Regions from separate parts of the Homo sapiens genome. Here region 1 is linked to region 2. Evidence: promoter capture Hi-C in 16 types of primary human blood cells and fetal thymus (Javierre and others, 2016). All regions are on one chromosome and are shown on one strand. Each heading gives the region's core, a stretch centred on a gene start or on the middle of the fragment in contact. The rest is flanking DNA. Distances are from core to core; before and after follow the strand shown.

The links. Contacts are between HindIII fragments. The CHiCAGO score rates a contact against its expected background, and 5 or more counts as called.
Region 1: a contact is called between a fragment that was not itself captured here and the fragment with the promoter of HPGDS in region 2, in 2 of 17 cell types (megakaryocytes and M0 macrophages). The highest score is 5.1, in megakaryocytes.

Annotation. Positions count from the first base shown.
Region 1 is chr4:94,580,986-94,587,109 of GRCh38, forward strand. It overlaps PDLIM5 (PDZ and LIM domain 5), which reads left to right. Exons shown (of 13, transcript NM_006457.5): 6 at 4,580-4,752; 7 at 5,423-5,459. Among named protein-coding and RNA genes, the nearest start is that of PDLIM5, 130 kb to the left of the region's middle. The HindIII fragment of the contact is 2,366 bases long and covers 3,524-5,889 here.
Region 2 is chr4:94,338,129-94,344,693 of GRCh38, forward strand. HPGDS (hematopoietic prostaglandin D synthase) reads right to left here and starts at 4,708. Exons shown (of 6, transcript NM_014485.3): 1 at 4,667-4,708. The HindIII fragment of the contact is 10,951 bases long and covers 1-6,565 here.

The sequences.
Region 1 (6,124 bases), core at 3,457-5,956, 240 kb after region 2:
ACCTGTATTTGTGTAGTTTTCAAAGTGCCTTCAAATATGCTAAACATAAACCCTTAGAGGAAGTCTGAAAGACAGAGAAATTGTCATTGATTTCACTGTTGAGGAAAATGAGGCTTCTGTAGATTGCAGTTTGCCCAGGGCATGGGGGAAAGTGGGCAGCACAGCCAGTATGAGAAACCAGATCACCTGGCTATCATGTTAGCACATTTACCACTGCTGTGTATGATGGACTATTCCATTTGGGCACATTTTCTAAAATATGTAAAAATATTTATTTGACATACTCAAATTGTTACCTTTAGGTTGAAATCAGTCAACCCTCCACTTGCTGCCGCTCCACCACACCATTGAACATTTGCCCCCATTTAACTTCATATTAATATAAAACATTTTTCCTAAACTTTAAAATGTTTAAATATACATCTAAAACTCAACTCTGTTCAGGATGAGGTTATTTTGCAAAACTATTTCCCTGCTACTTAAAATAACAAGGCAGAGGAGAGAATGCTGTGCATTTGTGGCTGCAGAAGAGTAAATACAAGCAAACTATTGAGATCAACTTAATCCTGCATCTCACCCTCACTCAGTGTAACTCAACCCTCTGAGTTTATGAAACTGATTTTGACATGTGGAAATATAGCAACACTGACCAGTCTTAGCGTTAAAACTGGTAGGCAGTTTTTCTTACTATGTTTATAATGAATTGTTACTTACTCTGACTAAACATCATTGCAGAATTGAATAATGCTACAGTGTGTTCTTTGGCAAACTATACAGTTTATACTTTAGTCTTTTCTATCCCTACTGTAATATGAATGTGTTGTTAATGATTCTGCACTTAATAGGCTATGTGAATGAATTATGTTTTGAGGTTCTTCCACTTCAGGTGTCACTAACTTAGTTCCTTTACCATGTCTTATCAGACACGCCTTCTGGGCAATAATTATATCACTGATAATACAGAGCTATGGAATTCCCACAAATCACTTCTGAAGTTACTGGAACTTGCTTGTGAATGAGGGTGGTATTAATGAGGGACAGGAGAGAGTAAGAAAATTGAGTGATAGCTCATTATTTATGATCCACTGTGCTTCCTACATTTTTCATCATAGTCGCTACTAAGAAACAAGAAAAATTTCAAATGGCATATTATTCTTTTATAACATATGATTCAGGATAATTCATGTGAGAAATTGTACTTGCTATTAATATATACTTCTGTTATGTGAGACTGAAAGATTTTTCTCTTATTCTCTTCTGATTTTAAGTGATTCTAAAATGATCTATTTCTACATTTTACATCTGATTGCTTTCTGTCCTTTGTTAAGAACATAATAAGAATTTGGATTCATGTTTAAATGATTTTTATAAAACCTTGTCCTTTTAAAAAATAGTGGATCTTTCAGTCACTTGATACTTGAATTAGCATTAATACATAAAATAGTTTTCAGTGTTTTGTGGGATGGGGGAACAAAACTGTTGTCTTGATTATAACAGTGTAGTAGAATTTTTACTAACATTTGTTCATTTTTTGGTCTGTGTTTACATAATTATTTTGAAGCATGATGTTTGTGTAACATCTTCACTGAAAATCATTGTTTTGAATTTTATTTCATTGTCTTTTCTTTTTCTTCTTTTCTCCCCTCTTTGTCTGTTGTTCATCTTCCGGGGAACATCAATGTCTTCTCTACTCTATCGCATCTTTTTTTGTGTGTGTTATTCTTCCCTCAGTAACCCTGGCACTGTGTAAGTACTTAACCAATGATTCACTTTGTAATTGTCTCTGTAACTTTCCTTCTTGCTTTCAATTTAATACTACCAGCAAATTTTGTTAGGATTTTCTCATTATAAGAATTTTCAAAAATGTTAAGGAGCATAAGAAGCATTTTTTTTTATGCTAGATAATTTTGTATGCATCAGAGGTATGTTTAGAACACCCACACTTCTGTAATGAAAAACTTAGTAAGTTAACCTTCATTGAGATATAGATGAGTATTATGGACAGTGTATACCAGAGTTAGAACTGTAGTTTGGGCTTTCCTTTAGCTTATTATTATTATTATTTTAATGTCTGTATTTTGAAATAAATTACTTGCTCCTGAGAGTAAAGTTTACATTATATCCCAAATGCATTTTTTAAAATAAAATTATTGAAATTTTTCTTTTCTTTCATCATGGTCATCACACTCTGGAGTTTCAGAACCAGAAAACACTAAATGTTTAGAAACTTTATATCATTTGACATAAGACCTTAAGGTGTGGTAAACAACACAAAGAATCTAAGGGGTAGTGTACTTTTTACAAGTGTGTCATAACTAAAAATACTACTTAGGTAGTGTCATTCTATTATTCGTGATATCTTAGCTTGACACCATTGTTTTGTTTTTAGACACCAAACCTTTTATAGAGGATAAAATAGTCTTACACTTGAAATTGGCATCATTTAAGAGCAAACTACACTCAATACTTGTAGAGAAATTTAAAACTATAATAAGTTTAGTAGCTCAATATAAAATTTTTCAAGGACTTGCATAAGATAAAGAGTTGTCTGTTTTATGGCTGCCAAAGGCAGTGTGTTTATGAAGAAATGTATGCTTATTTCTTAATTTTAAAACATTTTGTTCATTTTTAAAAGAACTAGGTTTTGTTCAATATTAGTGGAAGGTCTTTTAGATGTTTTACTTGTGGAATCATGATATTACCATATTACCATAAGTTATAGTATTTTTTATGATTTTTTGCATAAATGTTACTGATTTGTTATTTTGTATATGCAGATTATTCATAGTCGTAGAACATGTATTACAGTTGATTTTCTAGTAATCATAAAAGAATACATTATGATGATCATTACCTCATGTTATGTACTGCAGAAAGCACTTTACATACATTATCTATCTTATTTGTTCTTAAATAACCCTTTAAGATGCAAGTCTTATTTCTCAGATGAGGAAATTGAGCTTAGAGAAATGACTTGCATAAAGCACACACTGAATCTGATTTTAAAGCCAGTGTTACTAACTGTAATTCTATCCTGTTCTTCACTGGGGAAAAGCTTTTCCAGTGTGCTGAGACAGTTTTGGTTATGTAACTGTTAAAATGATGACAGTCGTGTGGCCTGCGGATAGCACTATGATTTTCTCACAGTGAGTTGAACCTGGCAGGTGTTGCCACTCACATCTGACCACATTTATAACACTTTCTGTACTCGTATCTTGTGCCAGTAGTCTGCTAGTCCAGATTCATGTTCCTTTTTCTCTTTTGAAATTAAACTCATAGCCTCCAAAAATTTGCATTTGCCCTGTTTTGAGGGGGGAGAAGTGGAGACTATTCATGATGCTCAATATATCATAGTATTAAAATATACATTGCAAATTCCTTTGTATTTATGCCCTTTTGAAATAAAAATGAATGTTCTTAGCAAACTCAAAGTTCTTGAACTCTGTAGTTTACACATCCTTAGAACAGCACTACCTTGTATGTGATATTCAAGAGACTGACTTTCTAAAGAGTCTTAGAGCCAAGCTTTAAATTCTGATCTGTTAATATATATTTCAGTAGTTGCTAATAATGCCATACCTCTTCTTCACTATGCTGATCCCACACACAGCTTTCTTTAGGAGAAGGAATACCTGTACATATGAATGAGAAAACTGTAGAAATAATAGTTCGGACCCTTTTCAAAATTGTATTCGGAATTGCTAGTTTAGCCTCTACTAAACCATACTTGGTTCCTGGGCCTAGTGAAGATTTGATCATTTAATTTCGTGAAAGCCAATACATTCTAGCAGCATATTGATATTAATGGCCGTTGTGAATATTGTCCGCATCTGTGTTTCGTATGGCATACAGTGAACAATACAAATAATTTCAAGAAGTTTGATTTTGACTACTATGGACTTTCATTTTCTAGTTGTTTTCTTTTTTTCTTATCATTTTCCTTTCCTTTTTCTTCATGTTGGAAATCTTTCTTCTGCTGCCTTCCTCTGTCAATTAAAAGGAAAATCCCACCTAAACGGTAATCTTTCTGTTGAATACATTCTAATAGCATTATTTTATATTAACATTATAAGTGCAGTTTTTTACTTATAATTTAAAAGGTTTTTTTGTTTTGTTTTTTTGTGAAACAGAGTCTCGCTCTGTTGCCCAGGCTGGAGTGCAGTGGTGCGATCTTGGCTCACTGCAACCTCCACATCCCAGGTTCAAGCGATTCTCCTGCGTCAGCCTCCCCAGTAGCTGGGACTACAGGCACGTGCCACCATTCCCAGCTAATTTTTTGTATTTTTAGCAGAGACGGAGTTTCACTGTGTTAGCCAGGATGGTCTCAATCTCCTGACCTCATGATCCGCCCACCTCAGCCTCCCAAAGTGCTGGGATTACAGGCGTGAGCCACCGTGCCCCGCCTATTTTAGATAGATCTTTTAAAAACTTGAGACCGAATATACTTGCAAAGCAAACTGTTTATATAAAAGGAATATTGAAGATTAATCATATAAATTATAAATAATTTAGTAGAAGATATTTTATCCTTTTAATATAACTTTACAATTTTTAATTTTTTTTTTCTCCTTAACCCTAGCCCACCAAGAAAACACATTGTGGAGCGCTATACAGAGTTTTATCATGTACCCACTCACAGTGATGCCAGCAAGAAGAGACTGATTGAGGATACTGAAGACTGGCGTCCAAGGACTGGAACAACTCAGTCTCGCTCTTTCCGAATCCTTGCCCAGATCACTGGGACTGAACATTGTAAGTGAACTTCTAGGTATCCTAATGGATGAATGTTTTTTTGCCCCAGAGAGTGGCATTGAGACTGATTGGTAGTTGTCAGAAAACAACCCCGAGACAGTTTGCTTTTAAATTATGCTGTGCATAACATGGGTAATATAAATAAGACCCCAGGCCGGGCACAGTGGCTCACGCCTGTAATCCCAGCGCTTTGGGAGGCCGAGGCAGGCAGATCATGAGGTCATGAGTTCGAGACCAGACTAGCCAACATGGTGAAACCCCGCCTTTACTAAAAATACAAAAATTATCTGGGCATCGTGGAAGCCACCTGTAATCCCAGCTACTTGGGAGCCTGAGGCAGGAGAATCATTTGAACCGGGGAGGCAGAGATTGCAGTGAGCTGAGATCACGCCACTGTACTCCAGCCTGGGTGATGGAGGGGCTCTGTCTCAAAAATAAATAAATAAATAAATAAATAAAACACCAGCCCAGGAGAGTAACATTGAAAAGTATAGATGTAATAGTAGTTGTACTAACTATAGTTTATGGCCAATAACAGGCTACTATGGAATTCGTTTTAGTGGCTCCATGGAAGTTGAACATTTGATATTGATTGGTGCAGGTAATTGCTTAAGTGATTTTGAAGTTAAACAAAACAAACTAATATTGGATATTGCTTATTATATTTCAGTGAAAGAATCTGAAGCCGATAATACAAAGAAGGCAAAGTAAGTTCTCTATCTTTTTGACAATTGAATGTTTTCCTTTCACGAATGGTCTCAATTTAGTTTTTCAAATTGTCAAGTATAATGGTATGGCATTTCGTCTTTGCAGCTAGAAGCTAAGCATTTAACTTTGGTGCCTTTTGTGTGACCTAAATGTACAACTTGCAGATTTTAAAAGTAGTAGATATTGTCTGGATTTTAAGGCTTGTTTTCCCTAGTATTGAAATAAGAAGTGGGCAGAAGGGTATATTTCGGGGTGCTTTGCTAACAATACATATGTCTGTGAATGAGCTCGTGTGTTGTCTTGCAGTCACTTTATTTTGAACATAAAAATGTATGTTTCCAAGAGGGATCTGTGGATTAATTGCTATATTTCTAAAAATGCTCTACCCTTAAAATTTTTGCCACTTAATAAAACAGCTATGTGAAATTAAGCTTTTATAAGGCATGTTTTCTGCATGATGGAATTAGTCTAGAACCTTTTTCCTTCTATTTCTTATGACTCTTCTATCACTCTTTTTTTTTTTTTTTTTTTGTATTTCCACAGGGAAAAGATACCCCTTCACGTCTTTAGTCCCAAATACACAAAATTACGTGACTGGCACCATGAAGTTTCAGCACGTGCTCTTAACGTACAGTGATTTATGAGCCTTGCCCCCCAAGCAGCC
Region 2 (6,565 bases), core at 3,458-5,957:
AAGAGAAAAATCAGGCCGGGTGCAGTGGCTCACGTCTGTAATCCCGGCACTTTGGGAGGCCGAGGCGGGCAGATCACTTGAGGTCAGGAGTTTGAGACCAGCCTGGCCAACATGGTGAAACCCCGTCTCTACAAAAAAATATACAAATTAGCTGGATGTGGTGGTGTGAGCCTGTAATTCCAGCTACTCAGGTGGCTAAGGCACGAGAATTGCTTGAACCTGGGAGGCAGAGGTTGCAGTGAGCCAAGACCGCGACACTTCACTCCAGCCTGGGCGACAGTGAGACACTCTCTCTCAAAAATAAGAAACAGAATTATCATGAAACATACTATCATCTCAATAGATACTAAATGCTTTTAAAAAGCATTTATAACATTATCACTCATTTGTGATCAAAATTCTTAGCAAAATGAAAAAACAAAATAAAATACCTCTTATCAAACTAGCAATAGAAGAATACTTCCTTAACCATATAAAGAGTCTCTACTAAAAACTTATAGCAAATATAATACATAATGGTGAATCAATAAAAGCATTTTCTTTAATGTCAGAAGTAACAAGAATCCCACTATAACATCTACTATTCAGCATAATGCTGGACAGCCTAGCTAATTCAATAATGTAAGACAACAATAAATAACATTTGTTAAGTAGTAGGAAGGGAGCGACACAGCATCCATTTGCTGTGTCCAAAATGATTGTCTATATTTAAACTTCGAGAGATTCTACAGATAAACTGGATCCTAGATTTCAAATGGAAATGCTAAGGACCAAAATAGCCAAGACAAAGAAAAAAAGAGAACAGGAGAGGAGGACCTGATGTACCAGATAGCAAGACTTAGATAAAAAGCCTTGTAATGCGGTATTTGCTCAGAGGTGCATTGTCTTAAAACAGAACCTCATATATAGGACAGACATGACATAGAGTGAGGACTAAATGGTTCTGAGACTGAAACTAGACTAAAATGGTTCTGAGACAATAGAGGGAAAATAAGCATAATTAGACCCCAACTTTCTATCAAACACAGAAATAACATCTAGGTTATCTTGGTATGATTTGACTAGCATAGCAAAACTGCAGTATCATTCTGGTCCCTTATTTCCTGTTAGCTTCATTTCTGAACCCTTCCACTGTCGTTGTGTTAAGAATCTCATGTAGAGAAAACTGCATGTTTCCTGAAATGATACAGAAGCCTGAAGTTTAAAAGCTGATTGTGTTTGAAGATATTTACATCTAAAGATCTTTGCATCTAAAATTAACCACTGGCTTCCTTACACCCCAAAGTATATCGTGTAAAGTTACTAATTCAGCAGATAGATAAAAAGCTCATTTAGAATTCTGTTTGAAAAATAACCTATACGGTTTATCAAAGAACACATAAACGACTAATAAATACCCTGGATAAAAACTTAGACATATAAACTCATATGAACATAGCTATCCACTGCAGAAGATTTAACTTTTAATATTAATATATGCATTAGGAAATAAGCTCTTTTATATGGGAAATAACAGTGTTTTTAAAGTACTATCTTGGGTACTTCCTTTCTTTCTCTTTCTTTCTTGTAGCTTTTTTTTACTTTATAGAATGCTTGTTATGGTTTGGCTATATCCCCACCAGAATCTCATCTTGAATTGTAGCTCCCATAATTCCCACTTGTCATGGGAGGGACCCGGTGGGAGATAATTGAATCATGGGGGCGGTTTCCCCCATACTGACTTCATGGTAGTAAATAAGTCTCACGAGATCTGATCATTTTATAAGGGATTTCCCCTTTAACTTGGCTCTGGTTCTGTCTTGCCTGCTGCCATGTAAGACATCCCTTCCTCTTCCGCTATGATGGTGAGGTCTCCCCAGCCATGTGGAACTGCAGTGCAGTGGCGCAATCTGGGCTCACTGAAATCTCCGCCTCCTGGGTTCAAGCGATTATCCTGCCTCAGTCTCCCAAGTAGCTAGGATTATAGGTGTGCGCCACCACATACAGCTAATTTTTGTATTTTATTTTTTAGTGGAGATGGGGTTTCACCATGTTGGCCAGGATGGTCTCGATCATCTGACCTTGTGATCCGCCTGCCTGGGCCTCCCAAAGTGCTGGGATTACAGGTGTGAGCCACTGTGCCTGGTCTAAACCTTTCTTTCTTTCTTTCTTTCTTTCTTTCTTTCTTTCTTTCTTTCTTTCTCTTTTTTTTTTTTTTTTTTTTTTTTTTTTTTTTTTTTTTTTTTTTTGAGACGGAGTCTCTCTCTGTCGCCCAGGCTGGAGTGCAGTGGCGTGATCTCCACTCACTGCAAGCTCCACCTCCCGGGTTCACGCCATTCTCCTGCCTCAGCTTCCCGAGTAGCTGGGACTACAGGCACGCGCCACCACGCCCAGCTAATTTTTTTGTATATTTAATAGAGATGGGGTTTCCCCGTGTTAGCCGGGGTGGTCTCGATCTCCTGACCTCGTGATCCGCCTGCCTCAGCCTCCCAAAGTGCTGGGTTTACAGGGGTGAGCCACCGGGCCCGGCCCGCCCCCCTCCCTTTTTTTTTTTTTTTTTTTTTTTTTGAGACGGAGTTTTACTCTTGTCGCCCAGCCTGGAGTGCAATGGCGTGATCTCGTCTCACCGCAGCCTCTGCCTCCCGGGTTCAAGCGATTCTCCTGCCGCAGCCACCAGAGTAGCTGGGATTACAGGCACCAACCACCACGCCCGGCAAATTTTTTTCTTTTTTTTTTTCTTTCTTTTTTTTTTTTTGAGACGGAGTCTTGCTCTGTCGCCCAGGCTGGAGTGCAGTGGCGCAATCTCGGCTCACTGCAGCATCCGCCTCCCGGGTTCAAGCGATTCTCCCTGCCTCAGCCTCCCCAGTAGCTGGGATTACAGACGCCCACCACCGCGCCCAGCTAATTTTTGTATTTTTAGTAGAGACGTGGTTTCGCCATGTTGGCCAGGACCTCCTAACCTCAGGTGATCCGCCAGCCTCGGCCTCCCAAAATGTTGGGATTACAGGCTGAGCCACCTCGCCCGGCCAAACTTTTTTTTCTTTATAAATTACCCAGTCTCAGGTATGTCTTAATCAGCAGCGTGAAAACTAACTAATACAATGCTGATTTATTTCATCTGATTAATTCAATCCCAGAGGCAATTTTAACATAATCATTGAAAAAATTACAAACTTTTATAATAAAACAATTTAACAATATATTATTCCGTATACTGCTGTAAAAGCACAGTAAAAAATAGTCTCAAAAATTCTAGTCTCTGTGCCAGAAAGATGACAACAATCCAATTTCAACTCTCTGACAACACAGGCTAATCAATATCCAATGCCTATACTAAACATCTTAATAAAGACTTCAGCCGAAATATTTTTAGTTCAAAAAAGAGAACTTTTGGAATAATTTTGTTAGATAGAAAACTTACAAATGAGGAATTAAGTATTGACCATTCTACAGTTCAATACAAAATGTTAGCCAACGTAAGCTCTTACTCTTAAATACGACACATCAAGAATTCAAACATATTTGGGCATTCCAGACACAGTTTTTTACATGCTTAGTAATTGCGCAATAATCTGAGTTAGAGATATAAAAACAAAGATTACTTGTGAATTTGCTATAGCTCTTCTTTGAGTTTAAGATGCAGATCTTAACTTGCCCAGTAATAAACTTATACAAAATGTAATGGCCTAGAGCATGTTTACACTCCTATTATATAGACCCTGGTGTTCTGAAATGTAAAAATTGGATTCAGACAGCAATCATGTGAGATACTATTGTTCACAGGGGAACTTCTTGCATATACTGACATTAAAACAGCTTTTTATTACCCCTAACATTTGATGGTAAAGAATGTTAATTTCCCTCATTTCACAGTGTCCCTGGGCATTTCAAGTTCAATTCTGGAAAAGTTGCCAGGTTGGAGTTAAATTATAGGACAATAGAGAAATAGAAGAATTGTTGTTGACTGAGTAAGATATTGATTTCAATCAAGCACTGGATGTTTAACTTTGAATTAGCAAGCTGAAAGCTCTATTTTTTTTTTTTTTATCAAATATCAACTAAATGTCATTTTAAGTGACTGTTTCACATTAAAGCCAAAGCAAGAGGAATAACTGAAATATCCTTTGGGAGCTGTGAGTTGAAATTCCTGGCCTGGGGTAAATCCCTTAAACCATCTCTGAAGCCAAAAGATGATAGGTTGCAATTCTTATCAAAACATGGAGATGCTTCAACAAAATGTGCCTTAAAATAATATAAAATATTACCAGTAAAAGTCTTAAACTTTAAAGCAAAGGAAAGAAATTGAACAGCCATGAGATAATATTCTCTACTCCATCAATCCAAGTTATTGAAGAATCACTTGGGAAAATTCTGGAAGTAGTAACAAACCCTGATTAAGACAGGATTTTTCCTCTAGCATTGATTATATTTTCTATGTTAAAATCCACTTGAAGAGATCTTCTTAAATCTCCTGTACCTATATTTCCTTAAAAATGACTATTTGAGTTTCACATATTCGCATATATGGAGAGGTTCTGGGTAAGACAAGGTCAGAGTGAGCACCATCATGAAAATAGCTCACAAGACAGTTAGTCACAAACAGGATATGAGAATAATAAAAACTCTGAAGTAAAGAGTAAAGCATATCTCATTTATTACCTATGTGGAGTTCAGTAATATGACTTACCTGTGTTATGTCTCTCGGGAGTCTGCAGTGTCTTGTATCCCTGGGTATGTGACTGTGCCTTGGGTTTATATGACGAGTAAGTGATAATCACGAGCCAGTGAGAGGACAGGCAACTTCCTTCTACCTAACGCTCTTCCTTCTTTTCTTAGATAAAACATGCATGCCAGGCAGTTCAAGCCTGCGAAGACTGCTGGTTATACAGGATATCTGGGTATAAATAAACCAACACATTTGTATACAAGGTAAAGTCAAAGTTATAGCTGCATATGTATGCCCACTGTTACATGTTCACTTATTTTCAGTTTTACACCATAGGCTCCTGGAGAATAAGAAAACCTGAATGTAATGAAATCATCTTTGCAGATGTGCACATGACTTGCTTCTCTATTTTAGAAACAGTCTCTCCTGTACCTGCTGTATGTTCCTTCGAGGCAGTGTCTAACAATGTGGTGTATTTAACTTGTTTGTTTTTGGTTTCTCCCAGTGGAATGTAAGCTCTGTAAAGGCAGGCACTTCACTGTCTTTTTCACTATTGTCTCCTCAGTTCTAAGAGGAGTGCCAGGCATGTCATGACCACTAATATACATCTGATGATAGAATAACCCTAATTTATAGTTCACGTTTTTGCAAGGACTGTAAATTTGCATTGTTGCTGGTTTATTTCATTTACTCTCATTTCTCAGAAAAGCCAAAGTGTTTAAAGTAAACCTGGTGTAGAAGTTTCCAATTCATCTTGTTTGTGATCCTTTTACAATTTAGTAACAAATGCCTGACATTTTAGAAATTTATTGTTTCACTTCTTAGTGCAGGAATTATTTTTATCTATAATATTAGGACAGCTCAGTGAAAAGATCCAATAAAATGCCTGCCTGGGCCTTACTGAGCCTGAGGATTATCCATGAAACATTTCAATGACCAGCTGGCTTTCAACTTCCAGAAAATTACTCCCACAGGCAACAATAGCAACATATCAATCATTTAATATTTCTTATTTCTAAAGTGCTTTTAATTTTGAAAAATATGTTTACATCCACTTAGTATAAACGTCAGAAATGAAAATAAATGTAAATACTAGTATGTAAAAAGAGAAGACGCAAGTGTAGCCCTTTACCCACCAAAAAAGGATACATGTGTGTCAAAATCAAGTGCAAATGGGATGGGAGTGGGAGCTATACAAAATTAACACAATGCATTTATTATCTTTGACAGCTTTAACTTATATTTTCAAAAAAATCTTTTTATCCTCACCTCAATGATTTTTAATCCCTATTTTTATAAATGAGGAAACTGAGACATAGGGAAATTAGGTAAATTGCCTGCGAATTTTTGTTGGGACAAGCTAGGATTAAAATCTAGGCCTTCTGATGACACATTTAATATTTTTCCTTACATAATGCTGCCTATATATAATACGAGACTGCTTCAGTTAAAAAAAAATCAAGTATACAAAAAATAACACTTTTCTCATTTTGTATTACAATTTTATCTTTTACGACCAGTTGTTTTGGCTGGAGGAAAGCAGAGTAACACATCAAGGATTGGGGAAGGAGCAGCCACTTGATCCTTGGTCACCGATCAACAGAGGCTGCTCTAGAGGCATCCATTGTCCTTGTGTGCATGGCCTCCACGCCAGGAGCTCTCTGCAGCTCCTGTAGCATTCTCATTTTGCTACCTTCTTGCCCCAGTGTGGTGGTTTCATCACAACGCTGCCTGAGATTCCACCTGCCCAGTACCCAACAGAGCCACTTCTTCTCTGTGGTCTTTCTACCTCCCTGGAGGCACAAGAGGGTCCCAGGAGAGGGTCCCAGATCTCCTCTACTCGGGAAGCACAGCTTTCCCATCCTCTTGTCTCTTCTCCCAGCCCAGGTGGGGGTGCTCTAACTCTCCTAGTCTTCTACC